Linked DNA regions of Homo sapiens: region 2 is linked to region 1. Evidence: promoter capture Hi-C in human tissues and cell types (Jung and others, 2019). All regions are on one chromosome and are shown on one strand. The core of a region is centred on a gene start or on the middle of the fragment in contact, and the rest is flanking DNA. Distances in the headings are between cores, read along the strand shown.

Evidence for each region. The method cuts DNA at HindIII sites, captures the fragments that hold promoters and counts their contacts. A contact is called where the count stands out against the background at its distance.
Region 2: a fragment that was not itself captured here is called in contact with the fragment with the promoter of CYTL1 in region 1 in 1 of the 25 tissues and cell types used here (lymphoblastoid cells).

The regions. Positions count from the first base shown.
Region 1 is chr4:5,017,397-5,021,810 of GRCh38, reverse strand. CYTL1 (cytokine like 1) reads left to right here and starts at 2,353. Exons shown (of 4, transcript NM_018659.3): 1 at 2,353-2,518. The coding sequence starts at 2,366. It also overlaps a transcript of STK32B not described here. The HindIII fragment of the contact is 2,782 bases long and covers 300-3,081 here.
Region 2 is chr4:4,510,165-4,514,578 of GRCh38, reverse strand. All of the region lies in intron 1 of STX18 (syntaxin 18), which reads left to right. Among named protein-coding and RNA genes, the nearest start is that of STX18, 30 kb to the left of the region's middle. The HindIII fragment of the contact is 4,474 bases long and covers 244-4,414 here.

The DNA of each region.
Region 1 (4,414 bases), core at 1,104-3,603:
CACTTACTCATTCATTCTCATGCTCAATGGGAAGGCCTATAAGCCTCTTTGCAGCTCTGAGCTCAGCTGATTTACCCAAGAAGTCCCATGAATAACCACACACGGTATTGCGGGTGGAACAAGGTCAAGTCTCCCAGCAGTACATTTATCTCACAAATGACTCCTGTTTTCCAGCACAGCAATGTCTCCTTGATCTAATGGTGCAGGACTTGTTTGGTCCATGGGCTTGTTTTTCTTCCCTGCTCTGAATTTAAGCCCATTCCTTGAGCACATCCAGAAGCCCTAGAGCATTTTAAAGCAGACCTAGAGTCCCCAGCTGGGGCCAGCTATTCTGCCAGGGAGGCCCATGCCCCAGGCACTATCATGGAGGGAGTGTGGAGACTCCTTCACCCAGAAGAAAACACATCTGTGCCTCCACTTGCCACCTCCAAGCACACACAGTTCTGCCCGAAGGCCGCGGTCCCTATGTCATCTTGCTAAAGGTGTTTAGAGAACACATTCTCACCTACAAAACAGGAAGGCACAGCTTACAGTCCCTGCCCAGGGCTTTTACCACCAGAAACTAGATAAATAAAACACTGGGGCTGGAAGGAACCTCAGACATCGCCCAGCGTGATGCTATCCTGTTTACAGACAGGGAATGGAGGCCAGGTCGAGAAGGGATTTCTCCTGGCAAATACAGTGGGGACAAGCTGGAGCCGGGCTTCATCCCTGTGGTTGATCCTCAGTCCAGCCCTGTGTCCAGGATGCCATGCTCTGGTTCACCCATCCCTGTGGGCTGCATCTTTGGTTGTTTTGTTCTGGGAATGTGGAGCTTGCCCAGGATGCTCCCCTTTCCTCCTTTGTTGGAGGAAGCTTTGGAGGCAGGAAAGTCCAGACATAGCTCCAGGGCTCCACTGCTCTTCCCAGCTTCACATCCCCCGAGGCCCTCAGTTTCCTCGCCTGGGAATTGGGAATAACCCCATTCACTTCATTGGCTGGCTGTGAGGGTCATAGCGTTCCCAATGGCAGCTGGCCTGGTGGCTGCTGGTATGTAAGTCATGTTCAGTGTTAAGGAAGAATCTTCTCCCTTTTGACAGTTCCTTCTTGCTTGTTGCCTGATCTTGGGCAGCCTGAGGACCCCAACTCATCTCTGCCTGCAAGAGTCCTGCTCCTCACCCATCCTGCCCTGTGGGATGGAAGAATGGCAGGAGGACAGGGCCTGAAGTCTCATCCCAACCCATGTGCCTCCAGCTTTGTGACCTCCAGCAAGTTGCTGGAACTCTTGAGCCTCAGTTTTCCCACCTGGAAAATGGGACTCTTTTCTGTGGCACCTACCTCACAGAGACAATTGCTGGATTTAACAGAGACAGTGCTATTAGCTCCGATCACTTGGAAACACACAATGGGCCTGGCATGAGGCTTGCTCAGTCATGCTATATCCTGTTGATTCCTCACTATGGCCTTTTGAGTGAGCCACTCTCACCAGCCTCATCTCACAGATAAGGAGATGGAGGAAACACTGAAGAAACTTGCCCAAGGTCAAAGCCAGAAGGCGGTGACCCTGCTTTGCACCCACGGCGTCTAAGTGGAGAGCCTAGACCTTTACCTGCCACTGTCTTGGGAAGTTAGCCCTGAGGGAGATGCACTTCTTGAAAACTAACCCTTCCTGAGGGTCTGCTCTCCCTCGGGGCCTGTGCTGGGAGCTTGAGGTAGAAGAGGGTGGGGGTACTCACACTCCCCACACATACGGCCGCTCAGTGAGCCCATCCTCCGGACCGAGAGACACACACGGCTTCTGAGAGGCTGGGGGCCCTGGCCCAAGGCTCACCTACCTGGTTAGCGATTGATGGACGAGGACACCGGTGGCCTGACCGCAGCTCTGCATCCCTGCTCCACTGCGGGCTGCCTGGAGGGAGGGATGCTCAGTCATCCCCTGCTAGTCCCTTTCCCTCCTGGCACTATATCCATTTTGACAAACCGTGCCATCCAAACCCAGGCCTGACTGCCCACTCCTCTCCTCTGACCCTCCCCTCCTTCCATCTCTGTCCTCCTCTTATCCCCCACCCCTCTCCATCTGCTGTTCCTGCCTTTTCAGGAAAAGTCCCTGTGCAGAAAGAAATTTCTTGCTGAAAGTGTGGGGGAGGCAAAGCCACCCTCTGTCACCCCCTCCTCCAGGCAGCCCCTCCTCTTAACCTGGGGCTTTCGTGTCTGAGAGGATTCCTGTCCCGACCCTGCCCGGTGGGCGTGCTGGCTTCCTCTCTGCCACCCTGGATGGACCGCAGCCTGCGCTGGCCCCACAGGAAGTGGAGGCGTGGAGCCGCCCTGGACCACCCCCAGCCTGCATAAAGGGGCGGTCGGCGAGGCTGCACCAGCGCCTGGCACCATGAGGACGCCTGGGCCTCTGCCCGTGCTGCTGCTGCTCCTGGCGGGAGCCCCCGCCGCGCGGCCCACTCCCCCGACCTGCTACTCCCGCATGCGGGCCCTGAGCCAGGAGATCACCCGCGACTTCAACCTCCTGCAGGTCTCGGAGCCCTCGGTGAGTCCCCCGCCCGCTCAGGACAGGGGTGCATGGCAGACCCAGTTCTTAAACCCTTGCCTTTACACGAAAAAAAAAAGAGAGAGAGAGAGAAAAGGATATTTTTCTTTTCTAGTAAATGTAAATCTCAGGAGTATTTGTGTTTTATTCATCTCCTTTTAAATATGATACCAATGGTTTGCTTTCTTCAAAACACAAGAAAAAGTAAAGACAACACAATTTTTGTGACTTACTAGCAAATATCAAAGGATCTGTTGTAAAATGTAAAAAAAAAAAAAAAAAAAAAAAAGAAAAAAGAAAAAAAAAGGAGTGGGAGGATGGGGAGAAAAACAGCTCCCCATCAGAGTTAAGGAGGACGGAGGAATGAAGCTTGTGTATTGCTTTTGTTAGCCTAGTGAGGAGTGTGCCCTAAGAGGTGGCTCACAGAACTGGCCTCCGCCCCTCATCTGCTGAGGGACCCGGGCAAATTTCTCAGCCTCTGCCTTTCAGTTTTCTTGTCTGTAAAATGGGATGACAGTAGCACCCCTCCCTTTAGAGTGGCTTTGACGATCAAAGGCAGGTGTGAACACAGGCAGGGCTCACAGAGCCAAGCCTACAGGAACAAGTACTCAACAGATGCCAGCTGATGTGAGCACGATCTTCAGAGGCAGATCTGGGGACTCAGAGAGGGGAAGACCCGGGAGGGCTTTTGGGGACTAGAACCCAGGCCTCTGCCTGCTTCTCCGTCGAAACAAAATGCATTAAACTTCATTAAAAGCTTTTGTAAAGTTTCAAAGTGTCTTTTAATCACTTGCAAATGCTTCAAACAAAACATAATGTTTCTCAGATGTTGGGGTTTACAAAAGCCTAGCTAACACCTTCTTGGTATTTTCTTTTTAAAAGTTAAATAACATGTATTTTTTCCCTAATTATAAAAGTATTGTACTTTGTAGAACAGTTGGAAAATAAAGTACAAAGAAGAAAAAAAATCTTGCTTGTAATTCTACCACCTAGAGGTAGCTGCTGCCGTAGCATTGTGGAGGATCATATTTCAGCTTTCTGTCTACATATAGGTATTCAAATACGTGTGTGTTGTGTGTGTGTGTGTGTGTAAACAAAATTTGGGTCAAACAGCACAAGCAGTTTTGCAACTTACTTTTTAATGACACTATCAAATAAGTTCATTTTTGTTTTAACATTTTGTTGTACAGTTTCACCACAATTTACCCACAAGTTTCTTGTTATCGAATATAGACAGCAATCATCTTTTAAAGGAATCTGATTTTAAAAGGTTTAAAAAGTTCAGAGGCTCTGAACCACAGAGCGGGAAGAAAGTGGAAAGATTATGCATTCTAAATCTCTAATTTCACAACTGAGGACTGAAGGAAGGCACTTGCCCATGGTCACACGGGGATTACTGAGAGGGCAGAGCACGAGGGCTTTTGCCCTTCAGCCCTGCGCAAAAACGGAAGCCCAATATAGAAATATAAAAGTATGCAAATTTATGCACTTCGATATTACTATATTATACACTATATACAACTACATATTAGCTATAGAATGCCTATAGAACAATAGGTATTATTACATATATCGTACTTATGTAAGTATATATAATGTCTATAATTACATGCAGTTATACAACTGTTATATAGCTAATATACTTATATAAGTTATTATATAAGTATATTATTATATAAGTTACTATATAACTAACTTATACAACTGTTATATAACTAAATAGTTATAGAACTGTTTTATAGATGTACATATATACTCTGTATGTATACTTGTATTACTGTATTATATATCACTATTTCTATATTACAGTTATAGGACTGCTTTTATGTATATACGTGTATGTATATTTCTGAATGGGTATGCATATAAAACAGCTCCCTGGTTCATAGCAAATGA
Region 2 (4,414 bases), core at 1,231-3,730, 510 kb after region 1:
GACAGGCACTTGCTCCTTGTTGACCAAATGAGGACAGAGTGGATCATCCATTCGGAATCTTAGTATTGAAAGGTAGGAGTGAAGAATTTTTAAAAGTTAGTAGAAATCACATCTAAATAACATATAACTCTCTTTTTTGCCATAACGAAATAACTGAAAGATAGAACTTTTTAAAATTTCTCACTTTAAATGTTTTTAATGAGACCAGTGAGAGAATGAATTTTATTCATGAAGTCTCCATTTTCCATTGAAGCTGCACTATCTGTTGCTGTGCTTAACAAGTTGATAGCTTTACTTATGGCAATTTTTATGGAACTGCTTTCTCCATCTGCAGTGAGAAGACTGAGAAGCATTTTTCTGATTCATATATCTACGTGTATCCTTTTCTTCATGATTCTTGGAGAAGCCTTGCAGAAATAGTCAGTAAACAGTATTGAATACTTACTACTTTCAAGGTGCCGCTTGATACAGTGAAGCCATGATATACAAGTCCTGGCCATGTGGATTTTGAAGTATGTGGTTGATGTCATGTCTCCTTTAGGCTGGATTCTCTCCTGCAATGGAAGCTGCCCTCTCGAGTTCTTTCTCCAGTATTGACTCTTAACGTAATTACATGTCCTTACCCCCGCTAAGGACGTCAGTGTCTTTATCACACCCCTGCCCTCAGGTTAAAAGGGGAAGAAATCACATCATTTATAAAAGCAGTGATGGAACATCAGTCTTTTTAAGAAAAAAATAGAAGTTTATGATTGTCTCATCACAGTCAACTGGCAATTCATTACTGCAGTAGCAAGGAGATATCCCAGACCTCTGGCTTTGCTGTCAAGATTGAGTGCTGGGGTAGTTTTTACTCAGCATTAAAGATTTCATTGGCCATGCTGTTTTGTCGGGTATCTGTTTAAGATGTAGCAGTGTGATTTTTACTAACCTGATTTTAGAGATTTTCAGTGTGTCACATTTAAATAATCTACTTTTGAAAACAGTAGTGTCTATTTGAGTATGTTGCTCACCGGGGAATGTGGCCTCTAAAAGCAACCATAAGATCCAAGAACAGAGCAGTGAGGGCCATGACCATTAGATGACTTCCACGAAGCAGTCTGTGACTCTGTTGGTTGAAATCCCCCACACTTTCCTTTCCTTCTTCAAACCTGTTTCTCTATCCTTTGGTTATGATTGGCTCCTGGCTGGATAAAGTGGTGCTGCTTCTGGGATAAAGCTGTAATCAGGCGCTTGAGTCTACTTCTACTGGAAGATCCCAGATGAATGGGAAACCCCATGAGCTCTGGCTTGCCTAAGGCAAAGCTGAGATTTGAGATCCAGGCCAGACGAGGGTCCCCCCCTCTATCAGAATCTCCACTCTCAAAGTACAGGTACTTCTTTACTTAACATAGAACCGAATTTCTGAGGTTTCCTAAAGAGACAACCAGGGAAGGATTTCCTGTGTCTGTCTCCTCTCATTCTCTGGGAAGTCTTAAAATTTTTCAGCTTAGACTGCTTCCTTCTTTAAATTCTAAATTGAATACCCTTATGTCCGTTTGATATGTATATTATTATTATATTCCTGGATTTTATTCTTGAACCCAGTTGGAGTTTCAAGGCAAACATTTGGTTTTCTGTCAGCCCACAAACTGAGCAATGGTTGGTCAATTATGGTCTTCTGTTGACTGAGGCAGAGTCGCATGTTAAAAGTATATTTTATTAATAGCCCACAAAGCATACCAACTGCCAGCTTTTTGCCATGTCTAACTTTGAGCAATATTTAGTAACAATATTCCCAGTTTTCATCTGTGGGTTACTTAAATGTGTCATCCAGGAAGTCACTGTAAGATACGTTGGTGAAAAAGCCTTCAAGCTTAGATATTGTGTATTCTGCTTACCTGCTTACCAACTCATGCTTCCCAGAGTACCTAACTCACAAACGTGCCTCAAATGCAGAAAAGCAAATCTAGTTCAGTATTATACAGGACTGGTAATGTCCTGGCTGTTTGCTCTATGGTGTGCTTGTTAATCAGCAGTAGATGATTGTGGCACATACCTATTCTTGGTCCTGAAACCACCCTTCTGTCAACAATAGTGCCTGCCTTCTTCCTGGGAACTCATCCCCACTCTGGCTTCAATCAAGTGGTTTCAGTACAAGCTGCTGTGTTTCCATAGTATCTTCTACTCTCTAGGTCATGGACCAGGGGTAGCAACCAGACTCAAATCAGGCCAATCAGAATCCTTTCCTAAGATTTTTTTTTTTAATTGGAATTAGGAAAAAGAATTATTCTTAGTCCAGAGGCCTGGATTTCAGCAAACAAAGCTCGGGAGCTGTTGGTGGCCAGTTTTCATTGCTGAGCTGCAATGAGAAAATTAAGGCTAAAATGCAGACAAAACAAGTAGGAGTTAAGAGAGTTCTAGAGGAGTTTTAAATATCTGGTTTAGTTGTTGCAGAGGCTAGCTGTATCCTTGCCGTTCCCATCTTTTGATCATTTAAACCAGTGGCTCGTGCAATTTTGCTTCTAGGGGATATTTGCCAATATCTGGAGACATTTTTGGTTATTACAGCTAGGGGGCTACTACTGGCATCTAGCAGAAAGAGGCCAGGAATGCTGCTAAACATTCTACAATGTACAGCTCTCCCACAAACACCCCCACCTCCGCCCCCAGACAAAGTATTATCCAGCCCAAAATGTCAATAGGGCTTAGGTTGATAAAACCTGAACTTTAACCCATCCTTCATACATTACCTTAGTATTTTTCAAATCTCCTCTCCTTCTGTTTTGGAAAGCTAGCTAGAATTAGTTTATGCTTAAGAGGACCTTAACCTAGGGGCATACACACACACACACACACACACACACACACACACACACACACACACACTAATCATGAGTGTTGTTTGGTGATTGTATGTATTTTCAGTCCCATATTTAAGATTTTTCAGTTTATAGCTGCCCTAGTATACAAATACGCCATCACCCAGGTTTAGAAGGACTATTGATTCCCCTACCACATAGATTCAAATAGCTACTTCTAGACTGCCTTGGGTACCTAAACAATACATATTCCAAACTATTGAAGCAAAGGCTATTCAGAAATTGCTACTAGGATTGCATCAAAATTATGCTGTCCTCCCTAAGATTTGTTTTACGATTAATATTCAACTCATGTATTAGAGATGAAATCACTATTTTTAGGAATGATTATGATAAAAATCAAGTGTTCAGTTTCATAGAACAAAACATAGCTGTCATATGAAGTCCTTGATAAAGCATTGCTGGCACAAGGAACTGTGAGAGTCCACATTAGCGTAGGCTGGACAAGCTGCATTCCTCTTTGAAACTGTCAGAATGCATTGTACCTTTGATTCATCTTCCAACCTACATTCAAGCCATGGCATGGATTTCTTTTTTTAAATGTTTTAAATTTTACTTTAAGTTCTAGGATACATGTGCAGAATGTGCAGGTTTGTTACATAGGTATACATGTGCCATGGTGGTTTGCTGTACCTGTCAACCCGTCATATAGGTTTTAAGCCCTGCATGCATTAGGCGTTTGTCCTAATGCTCTCCCTCCCCCTTGTCTTCCACCCCACAACAGGCTCCAGTGTGTGTTGTTCCCCTCCCTGTGTCCATGTGTTCTCCTTGTTCAATTCCCACTTATGAGTGAGAACAAGTGGTGTTTGGTTTTCTGTTCCTGTGTTAGTTTGCTGAGAATGATGGCTTCCAGCTTCATCCATGTCCCTGCAAAGGACGTGATCTCATTCTTTTTTATGGTTGCATAGTATTCCACGGTGTATATGTGCCACATTTGCTTTATCCAGTCTATCATTGATGGGCCTTTGGGTTCGTTCCATGTCTTTGCCATTGTAAATAGTGCTGCAAAAAACATACATGTGCATGTGTCTTTATAGTAGAATGATTTATAATCCTTTGGGTATACACCTAGTAATGGGATTGCTGGGTCAAATGGTATTTCTGGTTCTAGATCCTTGAGGAATCTCCACACTGTATTCCACAATGGTTGAACTAATTTACACTCCCACCAACAGTGTAAAAACGTTCCTATTTCTCCACAGCCTCTCCAGCATCTCTGTTTCCTGACTTTTTAATAATTGCATGTCATGGATTTCTTGATGGACAGATTGATGAAAAGAATGTTAATGAATAACTTGACAAGGAGGATCTGAGACATGTAGCAGGTACCTGCAGTTAATCACCTAGATTAAGACCCAGATTTAAGATTACTTATATTTTACACACAATCTTTTTTTCTTAACTTTCTTTGACTAATTTTTTTAAAAAACTATGACTGGGGATGATCTGTGTTTCTCTTCCTCTGCCTTCCTCCATTGCTTTGGTTAAACTAAAATTAAACTAGCAGAGTATTTTGTGAAGCTGAGTTTCTCTTTGTGTCTCTCTCCTTTGCACAC